Linked DNA regions of Homo sapiens: regions 2 and 3 are each linked to region 1. Evidence: promoter capture Hi-C in 16 types of primary human blood cells and fetal thymus (Javierre and others, 2016). All regions are on one chromosome and are shown on one strand. Each heading gives the region's core, a stretch centred on a gene start or on the middle of the fragment in contact. The rest is flanking DNA. Distances are from core to core; before and after follow the strand shown. Region 1 holds the start of API5 (apoptosis inhibitor 5). Region 2 holds the start of C11orf58 (chromosome 11 open reading frame 58). Region 3 holds the start of HIKESHI (heat shock protein nuclear import factor hikeshi).

What was found. Contacts are between HindIII fragments. The CHiCAGO score rates a contact against its expected background, and 5 or more counts as called.
Region 2: a contact is called between the fragment with the promoter of C11orf58 here and the fragment with the promoter of API5 in region 1, in 1 of 17 cell types (total B cells). The highest score is 13.1, in total B cells.
Region 3: the fragment with the promoter of HIKESHI here is called in contact with the fragment with the promoter of API5 in region 1 in 1 of 17 cell types (non-activated CD4 T cells); the score reaches 6.0 in non-activated CD4 T cells.

The regions. Positions count from the first base shown.
Region 1 is chr11:43,309,935-43,314,511 of GRCh38, reverse strand. API5 (apoptosis inhibitor 5) reads right to left here and starts at 2,516. Exons shown (of 14, transcript NM_001142930.2): 1 at 2,316-2,516. The coding sequence starts at 2,384. RefSeq lists an enhancer at 1,988-2,763. The HindIII fragment of the contact is 11,672 bases long and covers 1-2,691 here.
Region 2 is chr11:16,736,613-16,741,698 of GRCh38, reverse strand. It overlaps C11orf58 (chromosome 11 open reading frame 58), which reads right to left and starts at 3,052. Exons shown (of 5, transcript NM_014267.6): 1 at 2,858-3,052. The coding sequence starts at 2,920. It also overlaps a transcript of SOX6 not described here. RefSeq lists an enhancer at 2,549-3,178. The HindIII fragment of the contact is 4,072 bases long and covers 72-4,143 here.
Region 3 is chr11:86,300,734-86,305,834 of GRCh38, reverse strand. It overlaps HIKESHI (heat shock protein nuclear import factor hikeshi), which reads right to left and starts at 3,595. Exons shown (of 5, transcript NM_016401.4): 1 at 3,357-3,595. The coding sequence starts at 3,386. The HindIII fragment of the contact is 4,753 bases long and covers 2,834-5,101 here.

The sequences.
Region 1 (4,577 bases), core at 1,267-3,766:
TTCACAAACTTGTCTCTAAAGTACCCTTACTAAATAAAGAGTAGATTTTTGCTGTGAAAGACATTTTGACCCCTTGGGGAGAACTCTCAATTCAATCTGGTTTTTATAAAGATGACATGAGAAGGAAATGCAAGCAACTCTCAAAATTAGAGTAGGGGATGGACAGCATTATGTATACGGTTTCAAAGGTTTCTTAGAAGGATTCCTGACACAACCACTGTTGTAGCTTTCACCCTATCCCCCTACTGATATGCAACAAAGTCTAACGTAGGTAGAACAATTTGCTACAAAGTTACCCAACTAAGTCACAGATAAATTATACGATTGAGAATATCTTCACTACTAGTTCTTTTTAGGAACAACAAATTCAAACTGATTGACCACACATAGTTTGTATCTTTTTTTTTTTTTAATTTTTTGTTTGAGATGGAGTCTTGCTCTGTTGCCCAGGCTGGAGTGCAGTGGCCCGATATCAGCTCACAGGAACCTCCACCCTCCGGGTTCAAGCAATTGTCCTGCCTCAGCCTCCCAAATAGCTGGGACTTCAGGCGCATGCCACCACGCCTGGCTAATTTTTGTATTTTTAGTAGAGATGGGGGTTCACCATGTTGGCCAGGCTGGTCTCGAACTCCTGATCTCAACTGATCTGCCCATCCACGCCCCTTAAAGAATTGGGATTACAGGCGTGAGCCACCGTGCCTGGCAGTTTTTACCTTCTTAATGAACAGAATATTCCTCCTTCACAACCGACCTACACACTCTATCCACATGTACAGCAGAACATCCGTATACATTTCTTACTGATAAAAGTGAAATTCCCTACTGACAGGGAATGAAGGAAAAAAAATCATTTGCTATTTCAAACTGGTATATTCTTAATTCTAGATTAAGCTACAATAAATCTCCAACATGAAATTTTTTTTTTTTCGTTCAGCTCAGAAAAGTCCTATTTGAATTATGTTAAGAAAAGGGGACGGGAAAGGTACTCCCACGACTGTTAATAGACTAGAATCTTCCACTTTCTCCAAGAAGGGATGCGTAAGCAGAAAAATCACAAAGTTCTAAGCGCTGAAAAGCTATGGTGTGGGATTTCTAAAACAATGATCAAGGTTACCTCCAGGAGAGCCTGGTTCTTTTCCCAAGAACACACATACCCAACCACTTATCAAGTTCAATGTACTCCAGTACTTGAAAACTCATACAGGGAACAAATGACTTGTATGGATAATTCAACACTGCTGAGAAACTGTGTATCGGGGGCAAGCATCGTTAAGAGAGCTCTTCCAGACAACTCCATTCAGAGCTGCGCACTCACACTCTCCTTCGCCCAGCCCTGTTTTATTTTCTTCAAACATGTTTCATTAAAAAGAATAAATTTTTAAAAAAAACCTTTTTTTTTTTTTTTGAGACGGGGTCTTGCTTTGTCTCCCAGGCTGGAGTGCAGTGAAGCGATCTCGGCTCACCGCAACCTCTGCCTCCCGGGTTCAAGCAATCCTCCCACCTCAGCCTCCTGAGTAGCTAGGATTACAAGCGCGTGTCACCACGCCCGGCTAATTTTTGTATTTTTAGTAGAGACAGGGTTTCACCATGTGGGTCAGGCTGGTCTCGAACTCCTGACCTCGTGATCCGCCCGCCTCGGCCTCCCAAAGTGCTCGGATTACAGGCGTGAGCCACCAAGCCGGGCCTCACAATGCCTATCTTTCTTACTACACTCCCTCCTAACTGTACATTCTGGGAGAGCGCGGACCTTTCCATCTGTATCTCCAGCGCTCGGCACTCAAAAAAATGCACTGAATAAATGAAACCGTGAGCTCTCATCAAAGTCTGGACCAAAGAGTCCCTCTTCTGTTTCTCACAAACTTCTGTCTCCTAAACACTCTTCTTCAATTAGTAGCAGAATTTTGCCTCCCCCCCAAAAAAAACACATCTTGACCTCATGAAGAAAACTCCCGATCTAATCTTGGAAGCACTGAGCTCCACCGAAAAGGAGAAAGGCTTAAGAGAATCCTGTAGAGAAAAGCTCCGTGAGAAGAATTAACGTGAGCCTGAACGGGCTGAGTTAGGTTACGCCACGGTGAGAAAAGGCTGGGCAAGGGAGGCAAGGAAGCCTGGAACCCTGGGGACCGCGGTCTCCCTGGTGAAACCAGAGTCTACACTCCCAGAGAGGCCCACCCCGACGAGACGGCCTGAGGAGGCTAGGAGGCCCCGGGAGGATGAAGCCGCAGCCCCCGCTCGGCCCGGGGAGTGCGGCGGGAAGCGCTTTCGAAAGGCCGCGGAGCGCCAGGCCCTGCAGGCCGCCCGGGGACTCAACTCACCTGGCCCACTTGCTCCGTGGCATCGGCCAGGATGCCATAATTGCGGTAAAGCTCCTCTACTGTCGGCATGGTGAGCGACAAGCCCAGGGCCCGGTTCCGCTATCCTTGTCCTGACCGGCGCCACCGCCGCCTCGGAACTTCTCCAAACCCACTACCCGCACTATTACACCTCCAGCTGCCGCCAGTGCAGCCGCCAGTCACCGCGCACAGCGCGGCTGCGCCCCCGACGTCTACGTAAAGACGCGCACGTCGGGAGCGGCCTTCAGTAGACACCCCCCACCCCAATGCGCCTCCGCGGTTTTTGTCGCCCTCTACAGCCTGGAGGAGCAAAAAAGCGGCAAGGATGATTGAATTAGCTCACGCCTTTTTGAAAGCTTGAGCTTGGCTGCAGGCTCTCCATGGAAGGGGTGTGGGTGGGCGGGGAAGTGAATACAAAGACAATTGCGTTTCTGCCCTTAGAAGATCTTACATATGAGAAGTCACAAATGGTTTCCTCCTGATTCAAGGAAGGTAATATTAATCGGTGGCACTAGAGGCTAGTGGGTCCGGTGGGAAGCAAAAAACATTCCTATGCTATTAAAAAACCCTCTGTGTCCACCACGCTCATCAAGTGCGGGGTCAAATTTGGCCTGCTGGAAGAATTTGCTTATCTTTGCTGCCAGTGTAAAGAATTGGGGCCACCTGATTATGTCCAGTATCCAAAAGAATAATAAATAAATGAAATCACGTACGCTTACTGATAAGAATTTCTAAGATACAAGTTTAAATGAAATTATATATATAATATGATATAATATATAATATTTTATATATTATATAATATATAACATTATATATTAATATATAATAATTTTATATATTATATAATATATAATATTATATATTAATATATAATATTATATATTATATAATATATAACATTATATATTAATATATAAATATATAATATATAATATAAATATAATAATATTATATTAATATATAAATATATAATATATAATATAAATATAATAATATTATATTAATATATATTAAGATAATAATATTAATTAATACATTAATTATATAATATAATTATAATATATCTATATATTGAGATATAATATTAATTAATATATCAATATTATCAATTATATATTATAATTATCTTATATTATATATAATATATTAATTATATAATTAATATATTAATATTATTATCTTAATATATATTAATATATTATTATATTTATATATCATATATAATATTATGATATTAATATTATAATATATATTATATATTATATTATATATACAATTATATATATAATATATATTATATATTGTATATTATTATATAATTATATATTAAGATAATAATATATATTAAGATAATAATATATTATATATATTAAGATAATAATATATATTATATATATTAAGATAATAATATATATTTATATATTAAGATAATTATATTTATATAATAATATTATATATATATATAGCCGTGTGCGGTGGCTAACGCCTGTAATCTCAGCACTTTGGAAGGCTGAGTTGGGTGGATCACTTGAGGTCAGGAGTTCAAGATCAGCCTGGTCAACATGGTGAAACCCTGTCTCTACTAAAAATACAAAAATTAGCCAGGCGTGGTGGCATGCACCTGTAGTCCCAGCTGCATGAGAGGCTGAGGCAGAAGAATTATATGCACATAGGAGGCAGAGGTTGCAGTGAGCCCAGATCATGCCACTGCAATCCAGCCTGGGCCACAGAGCAAAACTCTATCTCAAAAAAATTAAAAGAAAAAGAAAAAGAAAAAGAAAAAGAAAAGTTAAAAGGCAGGTATAAGATGATCCCATTATGTAAAACATACAAAGCATACAAAACAAAGTTATGTGTGTATGTGTAAAAGGATGTTAAAGGATGTTAACATTTCAGGATTGAAATATCAAACTATAATAGACTGTAAATTTCAAAGCCACATCCACTTGTACAGAACATACACGGGAAATGATTACAAAAGAACTCCCCGGCTCTTGTACTTCTCAGTTAGATTGAGGATAAATCTCACATCCTAAAAAGGATTAGAGCTGAGCGTGATAGCCAACAGTCCCAGCTATTTGGGAAGCTAAGCGGGGAGAACCACTTGGGCCCAGGAGTTCAAGTCCAGCCTGGGCAACACAGCACGACCCCTGTCTGAAAATAAGAAATCAAGTGTAAAATTCAATGTTAAAAAAAATTGCAGGCCAGGCGCGGTGGCTCACGCCTGTAATCCCAGCACTT
Region 2 (5,086 bases), core at 1,803-4,302, about 27 Mb after region 1:
AATGCCAACAGGAGGCAGAGCTCAGGTGGTAATGCAAGCCAAGGGGAGTGGCTGTAAATACAGATGAAGCTTTGCTGGCTGGCCCACAGCTCACGTCCTGCTGTGCAGCCTGGTTCTGTGGCCCAGGGGTTGGAGAGCCCTGCCTTAAAGTACAACAGTGAGTACTTGCCCAAATGCTGCATTCTGAAAAGCACGTGGGTGCACTATACATTTTAAGAGAGTTCCTTAGCAGTTACTAAAATTTACCTCCCCACTCTTCCCACTTCCTATAAGATAGCTTTCATTTCTCCACTCCAAGCCAATGAAACGACTTTTAAGTTGTTTTCATCCTTAATACCCTTTACTACAGAACTGCAATCAATTTACCTCCTCAATACATAACCTGGTGACTCTTAGAATTTACTCCTACATTGTTAGCGTTTTTCTAGAGTTGTATTGTGATTTAGTATCTACTTTTAATAGTAAAAAAATGTTTTGTTACCTCAATTAGATGTGAGGTCAATGGGCATAAGAAAACTTCAATGATCTCTCACATACCGTGGATGCTCATTAGAAACTGTTTCCCAACTATATATTATAACTAGATTTTTTTTTTTTTTTTTTTAAACAGAGTCTCGCTCTGTCGCCCAGGCTGGAGTGCAGTGGCGCCATCTTGGCTCACTGCAAGCTCCGCCTCCCGGGTTCACGCCATTCTCCTGCCTCAGCCTCCCTAGTAGCTGGGACTACAGGCGCCCGCTACCACGCCCGGTTAATTTTTTTGTATTTTTTTAGTAGAGGCGGGGTTTCACTGTGTTAGCCAGGATGGTTTGGATCTCCTGACCTCGTGATCCGCCTGCCTTGGCCTCCCAAAGTGTTGGGATTACAGGAGTGAGCCACCGCGCCCGGCCTGCTAGTTTTTTTTTTTTTTTCTGCAACAGCTTGGAGGTATTTTAATGAATGCATTACTTATGGTTAAAAAAATTTTTTTTTTAAGTACTGGCTGGGCGAGGTGGCTCACACCTGTAATTCCAGCACTTTGGGAGGCCGAGGTGGGCAGATCGCTTGGGTCTAGTAGTTGGAGACCAGCCTGGGCAATGTGGCAAAATCTGGTCTCTACTAAAAATACAAAAAATTAGTCGGGTGTAATGGTGCACACCTGTAGTCCGAGCTACTGTAGTGGTGGTGGGGGAAGAGGGGGTTGAAGCAGGAGGATCACCTGAGCCAGGGAGGTGGAGGCTGCAGGGAGCACTGATCGATCGTGCCACTGCACTCCAGCCTGGGCGACAGAGACCCTGTCTCACCTGTCTCAAAACAAAAACAAAACCCAGGTACTTAAAGATACGCTTATATGATTGGGAAAGGTCTTCAAGGTCGTCTAGTTTAAACCGACCTCTTCCGAAGCTGTAAACTTAATGACTTAATCCCTTTAACTTTGTTAAATTTCATATCACCTGGAGTTTTCTGTCACGCTAAAAGATATTTCCAAACAGGTGTCTGATATCCTAGCAATCAAGTCACATTTAAAGATCAGGAGGAAAACAATGTAACAGCTTTTTAAGTGGCAGCCAGGTTACTCAAAAGTGTGGATCAATTCCTGACAAAACCTGAATTACCATATTAACAAGATCTAAAATCCAGTAGCAGAAATAACAGAGAGCAAGAATAAACTTCTCTAGGTGCCCATTCATCCCCAAATCTTTACTGATTGCTAATCTTTCTGCAGAGCTGAAGTCGATTCCTTTAAAGATCCTTAATATTCCGGTCCTCGCCCCACCTCCCATCAGAGGGGTAGGTCTTAACATTATCTCATTTGCTACAAAGTAGTATTCAGTGGGCTTTTAAAATTTTATGAAGAGCGTTGAAATGCACTATCGAAAAATTTAAAGCTCTATGTATTCAGAAATTGACAGTACTTTAAACAAAACCGAAAAAAAACCTAGATATCCCTTCATCTTCCTTAAAGATGACCTCTCCGCGCTCTCTCCAACAATTTTCCCCATCAACGTTGCCAAGACACTTATCCATTGTATGAAGGACCTAGTTTTACGTTTACTGGTTACCTACCGTTTCCATGACACTGGGCTAGGAGCTAGGACAAATATACAAAAAGGCCTAAAATAAGCATCATATTTCTCTCCGAATTCCCAACACCCGGCAGTGCAGTAAATATTTAACGGGTTACTTTAAGGGATAAACCGTTTGCTATTAAAACCTATGAGGTGAGGGCTGAGGAAGGGAACGGCATTTGATGGGGAGACGAGGTAAGAAGAACGAGGTATTAATATCCGACATCAAAATGGGCTTCTAGGTCTCAACGTCTTAGACCTCACCACCAGAGCCAGTACCAAATTACACCCGTGGCACAATTTTCGGCTCAATACTGTTCTCGGTTTACCCTTACTAGTGCAGCTAAAGTTAACTCTCAACAGCACATTGTAAAAATCATCCAGGCAGGAAAAATCTGTACAAACGTGCACGAACATTTCGACATTGTCACGGGAACATTTAGAACCCAAAACAGGGAGAGTCTTGCCGTCTCTATACTGAGTACAAAGGCCCGAGAAAGCACTCTCATCGGCCCCCCAAAACGCACGTACGAAATCCCTTGACTAAGCTCTTTCACTCCTCGACCCTCTCAGAATTTCCTTCCTCAATCCCCCTTCCTACGCAGGTCTCCGGCTCTCAGCGTGTGGGCCTCTTCAAACCTTCTGACCCTCATAAAGATTAAGGGAGGCATTTCCCACTCATTCTTCTGGTTTCTTCCCTGGGCTCTCCCGCTGCAGGCCACCTCAGGCGCGTCCTCCTCCAACCACCCTTCCCGGCCTACTCCAGGCTTTAGTAGGCCTCAACCCTCAGCCACTCCGCCATTATTATTTACATCGTCGTCTGGGGAGGCTGAACGCTTCACCCCATGCGGGTGAGACTCTCTGGCAGCACTCATCCTTGCGGGGATCCCGACGAAAAATGCCGAACCCTCTCGCCGCTCTTCCCAGCCGCAAAACCAGCAGCTTACAATCCGCCAAGGGCCCAAGCAGCGCCACTACAGAACGCAGAGCCCCTCCGGGCCTTCTCTGCCACAGTCGTCACCGTTGCGGCCCCTCGCCGCCCCGGGGCACTTTGGGAGTTGTAGTTTTCTGATTCATTGCATACTGGCCCGAATAAAAAAGATGTGTCCGTGACTAAAACTACAATTCCCAGGAAGCCCCGAGGCTCAATTCGCGCTGTGTGGCGGGAGTGCCCTCAGAGGCCCCGCCTTCGGCTGGTGGAGGAAGCGTTCCCGCGGATGTGTATGGCGGTGAGCGTTGGCCGAGAGCTTTGTCGCCACAGGAGGAGGCTTAGAGGGGTTTTTGCCTTTCACCGTGCAACGCTGCCCTACTGGCAAATGTATCATCGTAGCTAGGCACCTATGTTTAAATGTAATGTTTGAGGCTGACTGAATCCTCACGAATACCCTCCACCCAGGACAAAAACCTTAACCAAAAATGGCTTCTACCATTTCCACCCTGGTGTTCTCTATTGCGCGCAGGGGATTTCTAGGTGGTCGGTGATGCTGCTTTCTAAATGTTTTCATGAATATTTCGCTGTTTTCCCATACAGAAATGAGTTCAGTATGTTGTTAAATGTTGGCTAATTGGCGGTTGTTGAAAACGGGGATTTAGCTGAGGGAAATCTGTTAAGTTTTCATATGGCTTTGTGTGAGGTGGGAGTGCTCCTCACTGACCTCGCTGTGGATGTCTGGGCACCGTTACAGTAGGGGCCTTCACCAAGCAAAGTCCATCCCTGCCACAAAAGCCTCTATTTTTTTTCTTTTTTAAAAAAAGTAATTATTGAGGTTAAATTCACATATAAAATTAACCATTTTTTAAAAAGTGTACAATCCACTGTCACTTAGTACATTCACAATCGTGTGCAGCTGTCACCTCTGATTCCAAGAAGTTTCACCACTCCAAAAGGAACCCCAATGCCCGTTAGCAATCCCTCCCCATTTCTCGCCCTCTCTCCAGATTCAAGTGATCACTCCTCTACTCAAAAAGCCCTGCATTTAAAGCTATTTATTGTTCAGATACTGAAGACTATCTCCTACTTTATTAAGGTGTCTGAATTTGTAACCAGGTCTGAACTTAACTTTCTGTCAGAATCCTTGTCCTTAATAATTCTGAAGCTTTCTCACCTTGAATACAAATGTGATTTTTTTTTTTTTTAAGCAAAAATTAGGCCTGGCGCCATGGCTCAGGCCTGTAATCCCCAGCATTTTGGGAGGCTGAGGCGGGTGGATCACGAGGTCAGGAGTTCGAGACCAGCCTGATCAACATGGTGAAACCACGTCTCTACTAAAAATACAAAAATTAGCCTGGCATGATGGCACATGCCTCTAATCCCAGCTACTCGGGAGGCTGAGGCAGGAGAATCGCTTGAACCCGGGAGGCGGAGGTTTCAGCGACCCAAGATGGCGCCACTGCACTCCAGCCTGGGTGACAGAACGAGACTCGGTCTCTAAATAAATAAATAAATAAATAATAAGTGGTATGGATAATACATATCTGCTGTTTCAGAACTGAGAGCAGTCTGTGAAACAATGCTTAGCTATTAGCTTTTGAACTCAGCAATTGCTCTAGTTTCACTGCCTGTGTACAAATATTACTTACCTAGATTTCAGATCCTCACTGAACTGTGACCAGTGGAAGGTAGTTTTTAAATTTATGCAGTCATAGATTCAAATTCTCCCTTATTTTGGAAGCAGAAAAATAGCATAATAGTAAGTACTATAATAGAAAAAGAGATGTCAGGGTTACATTTTATAAGTATAACCAAACAAAGAACATCTTAATGGTTCTGTGGTAAGAATAAATCATAAAGGAGGAGGAGAGTAAACCCAAGAGAAAAAAAAGAAACATTGTTTTAGGAAGTGGTTGATTGCTTTTTGCTAGAATTAAAATATTTTCACTACTACATAATTCTACTTAGGTTCTATTAGTTACAATGAAATTACATTTAAGTTACAGAGTTTTGCAGTTTCGACTACAGTTCACCTCTAATGGGTTTGACAAATGGTGATTTAGAACTATTAGCTATATTACCAAAACAAATAAGATGGCTGAATAGGTAC
Region 3 (5,101 bases), core at 2,346-4,845, about 43 Mb before region 1:
CAGGTGGTGGATGTTGCAGTGAGCTGAGACCATACCATTGCACTCCAGCCTGGGCAACAAGAGCAAAACTGTCTCAAAAACTAAAAATAAAATAAAAATAAAAATAAATTATTTCAGAGGTGCCCTGAAAGGATTTTACTTACATAAAAAATAACTAGGCCAGGCACGGTGGCTCACGGCTGTAATCCTGGCACTCTGGGAGGCCAGGATCACACGACGTCAGGAGTTCGAAACCAGCCTGGCCAACATGGAGAAACCCCATTTCTACTAAAAATACGAAATTAGCCAAGCGTGGTGGCACGTGCCTGTAATCCCAGGTACTCGGGAGGCTAAGGTAGGAGAATCACTTGAACCCAGGAGGTAGAGGTTGCGGTGAGCTGAGATCGCGCCATTGCACCAGCCTGGGTGCAAGAGCTAAACTCCGTCTCAAAAAAATAAATAAATAAAAATAACTATAGCTTCAGAATGTTGTAAAAATGAAAGGTTATTCAAAACACATCACCTAAGCTCTCACCCTCCAGCTTAAAGATAAAGGGGCCAGGCACAGTGGCTCATGCCTGTAATCCCAGCACTTTGGGAGGTCGAGGCAGTCAGCTGGCTTGAGCTCAGGAGTTCAAGACCAGCCAGGGCAACATGGCAAAATCCGATCTCTACAAAAACTACAAAAATTAGCCAGGGGTGGTGGCATGCGCCTTTGGTCCCAGCTACTCGGGAGGCTAAGACCAGATAATCACTTGAACCCAGGATGTCAAGGCTGCAGCAAGCCGAGGTCCCGCCACTGCACTACAGCCTGGATGACAGAGCATGACCCTGTCTCAAAAATAAATAAAAGAATCTCAGGTAATTAAAACAGGTAAGCAATCCAGAAGTAATTAGGCAATCCTCCTTATTCACAAATCCTGTATCTGAATTCACCTACTCACTAAAACTCACTTGTAATCCCAAATCAATGCTTGCTGCATTTCTGCAGTCATTCATGGACATACTCATATGAACAGTAGTAAAAAATGTGAGTTGTAGGCCTGGCACAGTGGCTCATGCCTGTAATCCCAGCACTTTGGGAGGCCAAGGCGGGTTGATCACCTGAGGTCAGGAGTTCCAGATCAGCCTGGCCAACATGGCGAAACGTAGTATCTACTAAAAATATAAAAATTAGCTGGGCATGGGGGCACATGCCTGTAGTCTCAGCTACTCAGGAGGCTGAGGCATGAGAATTGCTTGAACCTGGAGGCGGAGGTTGCGATGAGCAGAGATCACACCATTGCACTCCAGCCTGGCTGACAGAGTAAGACTCCGTCTCAAAAAAAAAAAAAAAAAAAAAAGTGAGTTGTGCAACTCACACACTGGCAGCTGAGGTAGAACATGCCATCTTGTTTCAGTCCTCGTAATATGAAAAAGTGTCCTTTTCACAGTCTCATCTATTTAAAGCATTTTTGTGATTTTTGTTGGTGATCGTGCTGTTTAAAATGACCAAGTTCAAGTGCTGGCTAGTCTTCCTAAGTGCAAGAAGGCTATGACATGCCTTACAGAGAAAATATGTGTGTTAGGTAAGTTTTCCCTCTATAATATCCTATCTACCGATACAAATAAACTTAGGAAAAATATACTGCTATGTAATTTCAACTATCTATTAGTTATAAAGTAGTATCAACTGGCTGCCCTAAATTAAGTCTCAAGATACAAAGGCAGTGTTCCTAAAGTCAAATTCTGATTCCCTCTTCAGAAGTATTCTGACCCACTTTAAAATCCTCCAGCTTTAGTATAAAGAATAAAACAAAGGAATAACACAAACCAAATGGCCTGTATTAGTATTAAATTCAATTTCACCAGTCTTTGGCATGCATATAACCTAAAAAGCATGGGAAATTATTATTTATGAGTCTTGAAATAACCACCAGGCAAAATAAATATTTCTTAAGTGTCAACTTTGTATAGGTACTGAACAGTCTGCAAATCTGTATCATCACACTCTAATTTTTGACATTAAGAAAAGGTGTATCTCTTTAAGAAAAAAAATCTTAAGAAATAAAAACTGGGTTCATAAGTTTAGATAAGTAGATTTTTCTTATAACAGAGTCGTGTAGTTAAGTTTTGAGATGCCACTAGGTCTATTTGTCCTTCACTTTGATGTGTCCTAATACTCCATAATTAAAGGACCAAGTATCCCCAATATATAGAGGCAGGTATTACCATAACTAAATTTCCTTCCAAATTAGTTGACAACGTGAGAGATACATGGATTCCAAATAGGCTTTTTATTCTTTAAGAAACACAATTTTAATGTCATTCATTAATAACACTCACTCGTCTGAGTCACACAATCATTCCAGGTTTGTCCTTTTTCCCTATTAAGAGCAGGGCAAAATTATCTCACCAGGATTATGAATTACCACCATCACCACAGGGGTCTCCCAGTCATTCAAGAGACAAACTTTATGAGGCTAGTCATCTCCAACTTATCTTTCTGGCTTCTTAGAACTGTATATGTACAGAATACAATACATTATCAAAACTTGATGGGAAAAAAAGACAATTCAGCAAAGGGACTGCAACATTTTAAAAAGCCAGGAGAAAAAAGAAGGAAAAATACTTCTAGGGGAAAGGAATCAGGCCTGAAAATTGATGTCTGTGTGGTTTCTAAGGAAACAAACAAGATTCACCTTCCAGATTATTCCTAAAGAATTCCAGGTGCTGTTCTCATTTACTCTAACAATTTGGCAAGGTAAGTTATCTATTTTGACCCATAAGGAAACACACTACTCGCATCCTTCTCTGGTTATCTCAGATACGGCTCACACGTTAAGTTTCAGCCAACTTCCAATTAAATTAAGCTTATTTTTACTCGGGTTCTTCCAAAGGGACCCAAAAGATATACATTCCCTGAGCACCTTAATCTTTGAAAAACAGTTTGCTATAGACCAAATTCAATCCCAAATTCACCTCTACCTCAAGTTAATAAAGAAGGTATTTATACTGGCGATTGAACTTAGTTCTGTAACTGCAAAATGTCAAAGATAAAGACCATCTCACGAGTTATGAGGATTAAGTTCAAAGTGCCAAATAAGCGCCACACATAAGGCTGAGTGACCAAAGGCGTGCATTGCACTTAGCCCAGTACTTGGTACAAAATGCACACTTAATAAATGCCAACTTATACTGTGACTACTATTCGAAAGAATCTGAATAGAGCTGGGCAAAGGAGAGCACCCAGCTTCCCACGCTCCATCCTCACATACCCACCCAAAATATAATAAGTGGGCTTCCCCGCATCCCTAGCGCCTGCGCACCCTCCCTGCCGTAGGGCTTCGCCCTCGGTATCCTGACCCCTTCCTGATATCACCCGGTCCCATCCTCACCAGCCTCCCCGCCACCAAGCAGCCAAACATGGCGACGGCAGCTCCGTTCAGCCGGCAGTGACCTGAAGCCGGCGACTAGGAGTCCTGGGGCTACTGCCCTAGTCGAGACTAAGAACCTTCCAGAATTTGCGGGAGGGTGTCTGCCCCTCCACTACATAGTGACTGGGCCAGCGGCAAGAATGCCTCTGCCCCCGCGAACTCTGACCTTCTCTTCCTAAGCAGCCCACTGCTCAGGCAACAAGTACTTCCGGGGCTTACACCCGGTTTTCCCCACTAAGGAAGAAAGGCGGGCCAGCGCCAGTACAAGACTACAAGTCCCAGAACAAGTCCCAGAGGGCACCGCGCCAGTTTCCGGGAAGGTAAGCCTGGAGGCTTTGCACACTGGGATCGGTAGTCCGGGTGTTTTATAGCCACAAAATCTGTGGATCCTTCATTTCCATGTACAATCCTGGGAAGAGATGCTTCTAACGTTTCTGTGACATCTGAGAGATTAACGGTGCACTTTTACAATAATCACGTCACTAGATCTTTACAAAAACCCTATGAGGTAAGTATTATAATCCAAATTTTATAGGAGTGATCAGCCTCAAATCTTTACACAGCAGTAAATGTTGGAGGCTGAATTCAAGTCCTAATCCAAATCCGGGTTTCTTTCTGCTACACAGTGTCTCAGAAGTATTAATCTTTAACCAATTGTTTTGTACTTGTCTACAATTTATAGTAGTTCTTTCCAGCTTCACTTAGTTCTCCCATTCATTTGCTGTACAATTGTGGACGAGTTGTAGATGTCTTTGTGCTTCAGTGCCCCTCCTTTGCAAAAGACAAATAATGAGCCTATTGCCTAGGGTTGCTGTGAGGATTAAATGAGCTAATATGTATAAAACACTTAAAACAGTGCTTGGCTGTGCTTAATTAGTGGGAGTTTTATTGTAAAAATGTCTATTTTTTTTCTATGTGGATCTGCAGAAAAGTTTCATAGGAAATACAAAACAATAGCCAAAAAAAAAAAAAAAAATACTGGCATTAAGTACCGATTGCCACCAATACTTATTCTCCCTTTCACAGCTCCAATTCCTTTTCTTCTTGAATAGGATAGTAAAGGGTCTCTGTCCAATTTGAAATATCTGAGCTTGGCCACCAGCCGTAAAGCAGGTCTGTCTTCCCAGTTCTCAGTTTATATATGGGGGATCAGTGTTTGGAACAGTCCTCTGGCCTCCACTGTGGATCCCTAAACTGATCACCTATCTTATCACCGATACTCCTTTGAGATAGCTGTGCCAAAGGTGAAGAGGTAGGAAAGGATCTACCAATGTTTCCAACTTACTATCTAAAAAGTCCTAGAACCTTCAGAATAAAAAGGCCATTCATATGAAGACCACTTCATAAATTAAGGCACCCACACTACCTGGGTTCAGAGCCCATCTCTGCCATTTATTAGTTACATAATCTCAGGCAAGTTAACCTAACACTCCCATACCTCCTTTTCCCCATCTTTAAAATGAAGTAATAGTAGTATCTACCTCATAAAGTTGTTTTGAGGGTTCTTACACGTAAAGTACTCAATAGTGGCCAGAATGTAGCTTACTCAATAAATGTTAATATTTAGCATTATTGCCTTTCCTAACTAATTTTCCATGTCTTCTTCATACCCACCTTGTGCACTAGCCATACTTTTGAATTCTCTGAGCAACTCCTACTTTTAAATTTGTATGTGCTTATGCAACTTGTTTTATCTCCCTGTAATA